3 separate regions of the Homo sapiens genome follow, and regions 1 and 2 are each linked to region 3. Evidence: promoter capture Hi-C in 16 types of primary human blood cells and fetal thymus (Javierre and others, 2016). All regions are on one chromosome and are shown on one strand. Each heading gives the region's core, a stretch centred on a gene start or on the middle of the fragment in contact. The rest is flanking DNA. Distances are from core to core; before and after follow the strand shown. Region 1 overlaps SESN2 (sestrin 2). Region 2 overlaps EPB41 (erythrocyte membrane protein band 4.1). Region 3 holds the start of TRNAU1AP (tRNA selenocysteine 1 associated protein 1).

Region 1 (3,079 bases), core at 81-2,580, 290 kb before region 3:
CCAGTGGAAGTAGTTACTGCTATCCCCATTATTTGGTAAAGAAACTGAGGCTCATAAAGCTAAGGGATAGCAGGTGGTGGAGCTGTCATTTGAGCTCATGCAATTTGTGTCAAGAGCCCCATCTTTTTTTTTTTTTTTTTTTTTGAGACAGGGTCTTGCCCTGTTGCTCAGGCTGGAATGCCGTGGTGCGATCATAGCTTGCTGTAACCTCAAACTCCTGGGCTCAGGCAGTCCTCCTGCCTCAGCCTCCTGAGTAGCTGGGACTACAGGTTGTGTGCTACCATGCCCAGCTAATTTACTGTTTGTGGAGACAGGGGTCTCACTGTGTTGCCCAGGCTGGTCTCGAATTCCTGGCCTCAAGCGATCCTCTTGCCTCAGTGTCCCAACGTGCTGGGATGAGCTGCTGCGCCAGCCAAGGGCCCCTATCTTTTAACTGCATTGTATATTGTTGTTGTTGTTGTTATTGCTGAAAGTGTTGATGGATCCAGACCGATGACTTAGAGCTCCTTCTTTTGACAATTCCTGGGTCAGATTTTGGAGTGAGTTGGGATTCCCAAGGCTATTCCTATCCTTCCCTAGCACCCCTGATGGGCCGTCTCTGCCTCCCCCAGTTTTGCTCCACCCTACCCTGCTGTGGCTTGCTATTCTGTCCTCAGGTCCCCTGAGGTGGAGGCCCAGTTTGTGGAGTCAGCAATCCTTATCTCCTATACAGAGCTGTTGGGCTTTTTCTTTGGTGAGGGGGAGGGAAGCTCCAAAGGGGAGTGCTCAGGGATTGTGTTGGTTACTACGCTGAACTTGGACCAGCCTGGCCCGGAAGTTCCCAGAAGTGTGGGCTGAAGGGGGCCTGCACGGTCAGCTCAACTCCCTTTTTGAAGGTAGCTGGGCTACTTTACCTACCAGTTTAGTAGGTAAAGAGAGTTTAGGCCTTTAACTTTCCCAGAGCCACATAGCAAGTTAGTTGCAGAATTGGTACCTATTCCAGAGACTTTGTAGTCTTCTGGAGTCCCAGAGCTCTGCCTCCTCAGTGGGCTTTTGGCCATCTGAGAAGGAAGGTTCAATTATAGTTTTTGGTTCCCGGATACCTGAGGGCTGGTACTAAGTCTGGATCTTAATGGGAAGGGGAGAACTGGGCGCCTCCTATCCCTGTCCAGTGAGAGCATGGCTCTGATTTGGGTAAACTGTAAACAAGACCAGTGCTGAGAGCCACCTCCACTCTCAGATTAACAAAATAAATTAATAAGTAGAGCATCCTTCCTGAACCCCATCTCTAGGACTAGGAGAAGCAGATGTAGTGAGTACCTGATATTAGTGGTTTCTAAAGAGGCTGCAGCATATAACAGGTCAAAACAGTTGCTCCCATCAGCCTTGTACACCCTGCTCAGATTCCCTCCGTGCCTTTCTGCTTTCTCTGTCTTCATTCACAGACTAGTATGAATGACCTGGCGCTGCTCTCCACTAAATGTGATCTGGTGTCAGGGAAACAAAACAGACAATTTGATGACAGTGTTTTTAGAAGCAAAAGCCCTGGGAATTTTGGGGTCATAGGTGAGGGCCAGAAAAAGGTTCCTAGACTATTGTGGTTTAGCTTTGCAAAAGGAGTGACCACTGGGACTGGGCCAGTTGTATCTGGAAGCCCATGGGAGGGGGAGGTAGGGTTTTAAGCCAGTTGATCGGATTTATATTCAGAAAGTTAATGTGGCTACTGGGTAGAGGATGGATAGGAGAGGCCAGGGCTAAGGAGGCCGGGGGACAACTGGCGAGGTTGTGAGTAGTGGTCCAGACAAGAGGGGGTGGTAGTTAATGAGGTGGTGGTGGTGGGAGGACAGATAAGCAGCCAGGCATGGTGACTCCCATCTGTAATCCCAGTGCTTTGGGAGGCCAAGGCAGGAGGATCCATTGAGCCCAGCAGTTTGAGGCTATAGTGAGCTATGACTGCACCACTAAAGAAGAGGCCAGGCGTGGTGGCTCATTCCAGTAATCCCAGCACTTTGGGAGGCTGAGGTGGGCGGATCACCTGAGGTTGGGGATTCGAGACCAGCCTGGCCAACATGGAGAAACCCAGTTTCTACTAAAAATATAAAATTAGGTGAGCGTGGTTGTGCATGCCTGTAATCCCAGCTACTCGGGAGGCTGAGGCAGGAGAATCGCTTGAACCCAGGAGGCAGAGGTTGCAATGAGCTGAGATCGCACCATTGCACTCCAGCCTGGGCAACAAGAGCGATACTCCGTCTCAAAAAAAAAAAGAAGCAAAAGAAGGAAGGAGAAGGAAGGAAGGAAGGAAGAAGGAGGAGGAGGAGGAAGAAAGGAAGGAAGGAAGGAACGAACGAACATGTGAGAGAAATTGAAGCTGCTTCTGAAGCATCTGGGGTACTTGGTTACCTGGCTTCAGGGTGCAAACTGTGGTGTGTTCTTGTATAAGTTCTCTGGGACCACTAAGAAGGTGGCCTCCTGGAGATGTGCAGCATGATGGCTATATAGTTCCTTTTCCAGGACCCTCCCATCCCGCAATGCTGGGATTCTTGGGTCCCAACCCAGTTCCTGAAGAACTCAGCCTGGAGTGAGCCCTCTTTCTTGATTACCCTTCCAAACATGTGTATATCTCCCATCTGGCTCCACCATCCAAAGTATGCTAGAAAGGTGGGTTTAACACTTCAGTGTAGCCCCTTGGATAGGAGGAAGAGGCTGGATAGGTAATAATCCTCTTTATTCTCCCTTCTACTACGGACTAACCTCATATGTTTCCTCCCAGGAGCAGAGGGAGAGCCGGGCTCGGCGAGGCCCTCGAGGGCCCAGCGCCTTCATCCCCGTGGAGGAGGTAAGCTTGGAAGGGGTTAGGGATCTTTGGTCCCTGGGAAGAAAGGACATGGCATATTGGTAGGCAGGCATCTTTTCCTGTTCTTTAAATTGCAGCTTTTAAGCTATTCCTTTCTGATTTCTGATTCATTTAATTCACAAAACGGCTTTGTGAAGCAGGCACTGTCAACTCCATTTTACTGGGAAGAAACAGGCTCAAAGAAATCAAGTGCTAATAGCCAGGTAGTGGCCAAACTTTTTTTTTTTTTCATGCTCAAACTTTTGA
Region 2 (3,006 bases), core at 17-2,516, 500 kb after region 3:
TAAGTTGCAAGCGTAGCTAATAATGATGACAAAGATTATATTTTTCTTGCACTTTTTGCTTTTCAAACCATTTCCATGTATTCCTATTTAATACTAGCAACTTAGTCAATAAGAGAAAACATTTAGGAATTACAGTTTTACTCATGAGGAAACTGGAGCACAAAAGAAAGGGCCACACAACCAGGTAGTTCATCCATTCAGTGAGCAGTGGTTACAGTGATTCTTGCCAGGGGTGTACATCCTTATCACCTTTGGAGCTTTAAAACAAAACACATGCCCAAGCCTCACTCTTGGATAGCTCATCTCACTAGAGTGGGCCTGAGCATCATCTGATTTTTTTGTTTTTTGTCTTGAAAAACAAACATTGTATCAGAGGACACAAATGATTTATGTGGTCCTCTGATAAAAGAACCACCCTACCGCATACTAGCAGAAATTGTGCTAGTAAATAACAGCTAGAAGTAGAAGTTGTTTGCCTTTACTCAGTCTGATGGTTTGAATTTTATTCTTTACTGCTGTAGTATATAACTATCTAAGTTTCTGTTGTCAGCCAAGAGCAATATAGTATTGAAGTTAGTGGGTCACCATCAGCATTTTTCTTTATGTAGACCCTCAGATATGGGAGATACTGGATTTTTAAAGTTATGTATTGTCTATATATGCACCAAAATCTTGTAAATATTAACAGCTGAATTAATAAAACTGAAGACCCACACATCTTAAAAAGCAATCCTTACCCCCAACACTGTGAATATACTAAAAAGCATTGAATTATATATTTTAAATGAGTGAACTGTGTGGTATGTGAATTGTATCTCAAAAAAAGCTGTTAAAAAAAGCCATGATCACTACCATGATATTATAGAGTTAATATCTTCCATATTTTACAGATGATTAAACTAAAGTTTGTAAGATTAAGCTCCACGCCTTAGGCACACTACTATATGTGACTGAGTGTGGGCCTAAGACTCGTGATTTGGCTTTTGCCTCTGTTCCACGCAGCCTTTCACAGCCAGAGCTTTTTATTGTAATGTTATTATTTTTCCAATCTGTGAACTCTGTTTCTGTCAGTTTCCACACTAATACCTTCTTTTCCACATACAGTACAGATTGCCAAGGCTAGGAATGCTGAAGACATAAATCATTTGGCTCTGCAGTATTAGTACTGGATTGAAACCAAAGACAAGTGGCAAAATAACACATGGTGAAAGCATGGGCTAAGTTTCTATGATGCCAGGCATAGTTGAATTAATTCTTTGAGAGGAGGTGTGAATACACATGTATAATGATACTTAAACACAACTGTGAGCAAAATATTTTGTCACATTCCCCTGTGTTGTCAGGTTTGGTCTGCCATCTGCCACTCTTGCAGTGACTGCTTAAAGCACCCATTAGTAGTAGCTCTGTGCTAATCCAGAGTTATTACTACTAACCCAGTAGTAGCAATCTGTGCAAGAGGCCGCAGATTTTTCATGGAAAGATAAAGGAGATCCTTTTTTTTTTTGAGACAGAGTCTTGCTCTGTTGCCCAGGCTAGAGTGCAGTGGTACGATCTCGGCTCACTGCAAGCTCCACCTCCTGGGTTCAGGCCATTCACCTGCCTCAGCCTCCCAAGTAACTGGGACTACAGACGCCCGCCACCACGCCCAGCTAATTTTTTGTATTTTTTAGTAGAGATGGGTTTCACTGTGTTAGCCAGGATGGCCTCAATCTCCTGACCTCGTGATCCACCCACCTTGGCCTCCCAAAGTGCTGGGATTATAGGCGTGAGCCACCACGCCTGGCTGATAAAGGGGATTCTTGAATTTCTGCTGTTTTTCCTATATATCCGCTAAGGAATTAGTTCTTTCATTGGAAATTATGACAGAGTAATGAGCATTTCTTTCTTTTTCTTTTTCTGTTTTTTTTTTTTTTTTTTTTTTTTTTTTTGGAGACAGTCTGGCTCTGTTGCCCAGGCTGGAGTGCAGTGGCACGATCTCAGCTCACTGCAACCTCTGCCTCTCGGGTTCAAGTGATTCTCCTGCCTCAGCCTCCCGAGTAGCTATGACTACAGGCGCCCACCACCACACTTGGCTAATTTTTGTATTTTTAGTAGAGACGACGTTTCACCTTGTTGACCAGGCTGGTCTCGAACTCCCGACCTCAGGTGATCTGCCCACCTCGGCCTCCCAAAGTGCTGGGATTACAGGTGTGAGCCACCGTGCCTGGCCAAGCATTTCTTTCTTAATATTGTTGTATGAAGTAGTTGGGAATTTAAAGTTTTTATCTGTTCAGATTCATGGAATTCCTTTATCTGATCCTTACAGTTTACAAATCTAAAAATTTCAGGATGAATCATGTTCAGTTATAGTCAGTTTAAGAATGCAGGAAAGTCTATAATAAAAATTATTGATTTCCATGCAAATTGATTAAAATATAAGAGTCTTGGCTGGGAGCGGTGGCTCACGCCTGTAATCCCAGGACTTTGGGAGGCCAAGGCAGGCAGATCACTTGAGGTCAGGAGTTCAAGACCAGCCTGGCCAACATGGTGAAACCCCATCTCTACTAAAGATACAAAAAATTAGCCAGGCATGGTGGCATGTGCCTGTAGTCCCAGCTACTGGGGAGGCTGAGGCAGGAGAATCACTTGAACCTGAGAGGCGGAGATTCTAGTGAGCCGAGATCATGCCATTGCACTCTAGCCTAGGCGACAGGGCAAGACTCCATCTTAAAAAAAAAAAAAAAGTCTCAGTACAAAAGAGGATAACAATATGTTATCAGAAATACTAAATCATGCACAAAAACACTTTCATTCCTAGATACTGTCAGATAAGTGAAGTTTTATTACAAAGTGTAAATGTTTTATATCCCTGAAAGAATGAACATAAAAACCATAAAAAGAGTATGAGTGATTGTTTTGAAGTAAGCTGTCTAAAACTTAGATACCAAATATTCCAAAACAACAATTGGCTCTTTGAAAAGATCAAGATTTTATCATAAGTCTGTATAGTTTATTCTCTCTAAAACA
Region 3 (3,400 bases), core at 107-2,606:
TTTTGGCCTCATGTTAATTTCTGTTGGATTGAGAGCCTAAGAACCCCTGGTAACAATAGGGAGGTAGTGGAACCGGGTTGTCCGGAGGGATATTTTCACTTTTTTGGATGCACTTGTATCTGCAGTTTTTTACAACGAGCATATATTAATGTTGTAATTATGTGTGTGTTTGTGTGTGTGTGTACGTGTGTATGTTTTTTGTTTTTTGTTTTTTTTTTAATTTGAGACAGAGTCTCACTCTGTCGCCCAGGCTGGAGTGCAGTGGCGCGATCTCGGCTCACTGCAGCCTCTGCCTCCCGGGTTCAAGTGATTATCCTGTCTCAGCCACCTGAGTAGCTGGGACTACAAGTGCACACCATCATACCCGGCTAATTTCTGTATTTTTAGTAGAGACGGGGTTTCACCATGTTGGCCAGGATGGTCTCGATCTCCTGACCTCGTGATCTGCCCACCTCGGCCTCCCAAAGTGTTGGGATTACAGGCGTGAGCCACCGCGCCCGGCCTTGTTTGTTTTCTAAATATGTAAAGTCAGAAATTAACCCAAGTAACGAGCATACATATATATGTGTGTGTGTGTGTGTATATATGTATATATATGTGTATGTGTGTATATATGTGTATATGTGTATTATGTGTGTATATGTGTATATATGTGTATATATATGTGTATGTGTGTGTGTGTGTGTATGTATATATATGGAGTCTTGCTCTGTCACCAGGCTGCGGTGCAATGGCGCTATCTCGGCTCACTGCAACTTCTGCCCCCTGGGTTTAAGCGATTCTCCTGCCTCAGTCTCCCGAGTAGCTGCGACTACCAGCGCTCGCCACCACGCCCGCTAATTTTCGTACTTTTAGTAGAGAGGGGGTTTCCCCCTGTTGGCGAGGATGGTCTCGATTTCTTCACCTCGTGATCCGCCCGCCTCGGCCTCCTCAAGTGCTGGGATTACAGGCGTGAGCCACCGTGCCCAGCCCTAACGAGCATATATTAATGTTGTAATTATATGTGTCTGTGTGTGTGTGGTTTTGTTTTCTATATAAAGTCAGACGAGTGTGTGTGTGTAGTTTTGTTTGTTTTCTAAATATATAAAGTCAGAAATAAACCCAAGTAACCCAGCCGCCTGGGCCAGGTGGTATCTGGCCCGCCCCATTCCAGCCTGAACTCCGCCCACCGCGATCCGGAAGCCTAGCGCCCAGTGGGTTGCAGGAAAAACCCGGAGCTGAACACACTGCCCGACCCGGGCCGCTGCGCTCGGGAGCCTGCGCAGAAGCCGTCGGAGGCGCATGCTCTGTAGCGGTCTCCGCAGCCAGGATTGGCGCCCGCGCGGGCCTTCGAGCCCCGCCCGCAGAGCCCCGCCCGCAAAGCCCCACCCCGGTGCGCGGGTATGGCGGCCAGCCTGTGGATGGGCGACGTGAGTGAGGGCAGCCGTCCGGGGTCTGAAGACAAGGAAGCATCTCGGTTTCGCGAGAGAGGAAGGATCTGAGTGGGAGGGGACTTGGGATCCCAGAAAGGGGAGACGTGTGACGGGGGTTCTTTTTGGTGACACAGAAGCGGGTTCCAGCATCTAAGTGAAGAGGCTGAGTCCGTGAGGCTAGGGGTCCTGGGGCCCCACCTGGGTTCGTGGGAGGGAAAGGTGGTGCTTTGGGGACATAGAATGGGAGCAATCCAAGGACTGAGGCGCGCTGTTCTGGGACCGGAGGAGTGGGGTTTCTAGGTCCAAGGGGAGGCTCCCTAAAGCGGGGCAAGCTTGAACCAAAAGAGCTGGGGTTTCAGGCCGCTCAGTGGAGGCGAACCTCGCCCCTCGCTCCCCCAGCGGCGCGTAGCCAGCCCTGGGCTGAACGGGAGGGGCTCTGGAACCCGGAGTGGGAAGCCCGGCCGCCGGCCTGAGCCGCTGTGCTCTTGTTTTTACGCAGCTGGAACCCTACATGGATGAGAACTTCATCTCCAGAGCCTTTGCCACCATGGGGGAGACCGTAATGAGCGTCAAAATTATCCGAAACCGCCTCACTGGGTAAGTCTCATCTCAGGTCTCTCTTAATACATCTCGTTGCAGCTGTCATGTACGAGAATGTAAACATCGTAGTCATGGCTTCTCACTACCCCTAGTAATAGTCACTGTAAAATTATAACAGCTAACATTTTGAGGTCCCAATGAGTGGAAGGATGGCATGTAGCTTAAGGGTAGGACTTGCCAGGCGTTGTGACTCACACCTGTAATCCCAGCACTTTGGGAGGCTGAGGTGGGTGGATCACCTGAGGTCAGGAGTTTGAGACCAGCCTGGCCAACATGGTGAAACCCCGTCTCTACTAAAAATACAAAAATTAGCCGGGTGTGGTGGCAGGCACCTGTAACCCCAGCTACTCCGGAGGCTGAGGCATGAGAATCACTTGAACCCGGGAGGCGAAGGTTGCAGTGAGCTGAGATCGTGCCACTGTACTTCAGCTTGGACAACAAGAGCAAAACAATGTCTCAAAAAAAAAAAAAACAAAAAAACAAAAAACGCAGGACTCAAGCGAGACTGGGTTTGAAAGCTATTTCTACTCTATGACCTTGGGTAAGTTACTTAACTGCTCTGTCTCATTCACTTTGAGTATAAAAATGGAAATAACAGCACCTACCTCCTAGAGTTATGGTGAGGATTAAATGAGTTAATTCACATTCATCATTAGGACAGTGTATGGCATATAGCATATGCTCAGTAAGTATAGTCAGATTACGATCTGCTGAGTAATAAGCAGTTTACATCCATTATCTCCTTAAAACCTCAGAAACTTCTGAGGTAGGTAAATACTATTATGAAGAGGCTTAATAACTTGAAGAGTTACAATAAATAGCCGGGCGCAGTGGCTCTCGCCTGTAATCCTAGCACTTTGGGAGGCCGAGGCAGGCCGGATCACGAGGTCAGGAGATTGAGACCATCCTGGCTAACACGGTGAAACCCCATCTCTACTAAAAATACAAAAAAAATTAGCTGGGCATGGTGGCGGGCACTTGTAGTCTCAGCTACTTGGGGGGCTGAGGCAGGAGAATGGCGTGAACCCAGGAGGCGGAGCTTGCAGTGAGCCGAGATCGCTCCACTCCACTCCAGCCTGGGCGACAGCTGAGACTCTGTCTCAAAAAAAAAAAAAAAGAGTTATAATAAATAACAAGTCAGGACTTGAATTCGAGTCTATCCTGAAAGCTCATGAGGGCCCTTAACTCTTATGCCATTCATTTAAAAAATTGTGGAGGATGGGTGCGGTGCCTCATGCCTGTAATCCCAGCACTTCGGGAGGCGAGAAGGGTGGATCACCTGAGGTCAGGAGTTGGAGACCAGCCTGACCAACATGGAGAAACCCTGTCTCTACCAAAAATTAGCCAGGCGTGGTGGTGCATGCCTGTAATCCCAGCTACCTGGGAGG

Evidence for each region. Contacts are between HindIII fragments. The CHiCAGO score rates a contact against its expected background, and 5 or more counts as called.
Region 1: a fragment that was not itself captured here is called in contact with the fragment with the promoter of TRNAU1AP in region 3 in 2 of 17 cell types (fetal thymus and endothelial precursors); the score reaches 5.4 in fetal thymus.
Region 2: a contact is called between a fragment that was not itself captured here and the fragment with the promoter of TRNAU1AP in region 3, in 1 of 17 cell types (total CD4 T cells). The highest score is 5.4, in total CD4 T cells.

Annotation. Positions count from the first base shown.
Region 1 is chr1:28,266,434-28,269,512 of GRCh38, forward strand. SESN2 (sestrin 2) reads left to right here. Exons shown (of 10, transcript NM_031459.5): 2 at 2,750-2,815. Among named protein-coding and RNA genes, the nearest start is that of SESN2, 8.5 kb to the left of the region's middle. The HindIII fragment of the contact is 2,975 bases long and covers 1-2,818 here.
Region 2 is chr1:29,049,190-29,052,195 of GRCh38, forward strand. All of the region lies in intron 11 of EPB41 (erythrocyte membrane protein band 4.1), which reads left to right. Among named protein-coding and RNA genes, the nearest start is that of TMEM200B, 73 kb to the right of the region's middle. The HindIII fragment of the contact is 7,587 bases long and covers 1-3,006 here.
Region 3 is chr1:28,551,729-28,555,128 of GRCh38, forward strand. It overlaps TRNAU1AP (tRNA selenocysteine 1 associated protein 1), which reads left to right and starts at 1,357. Exons shown (of 9, transcript NM_017846.5): 1 at 1,357-1,409; 2 at 1,912-2,009. The coding sequence starts at 1,383. RefSeq lists enhancers at 1,069-1,363, 1,087-1,146 and silencers at 1,297-1,436, 2,369-2,663. The HindIII fragment of the contact is 4,615 bases long and covers 1-1,742 here.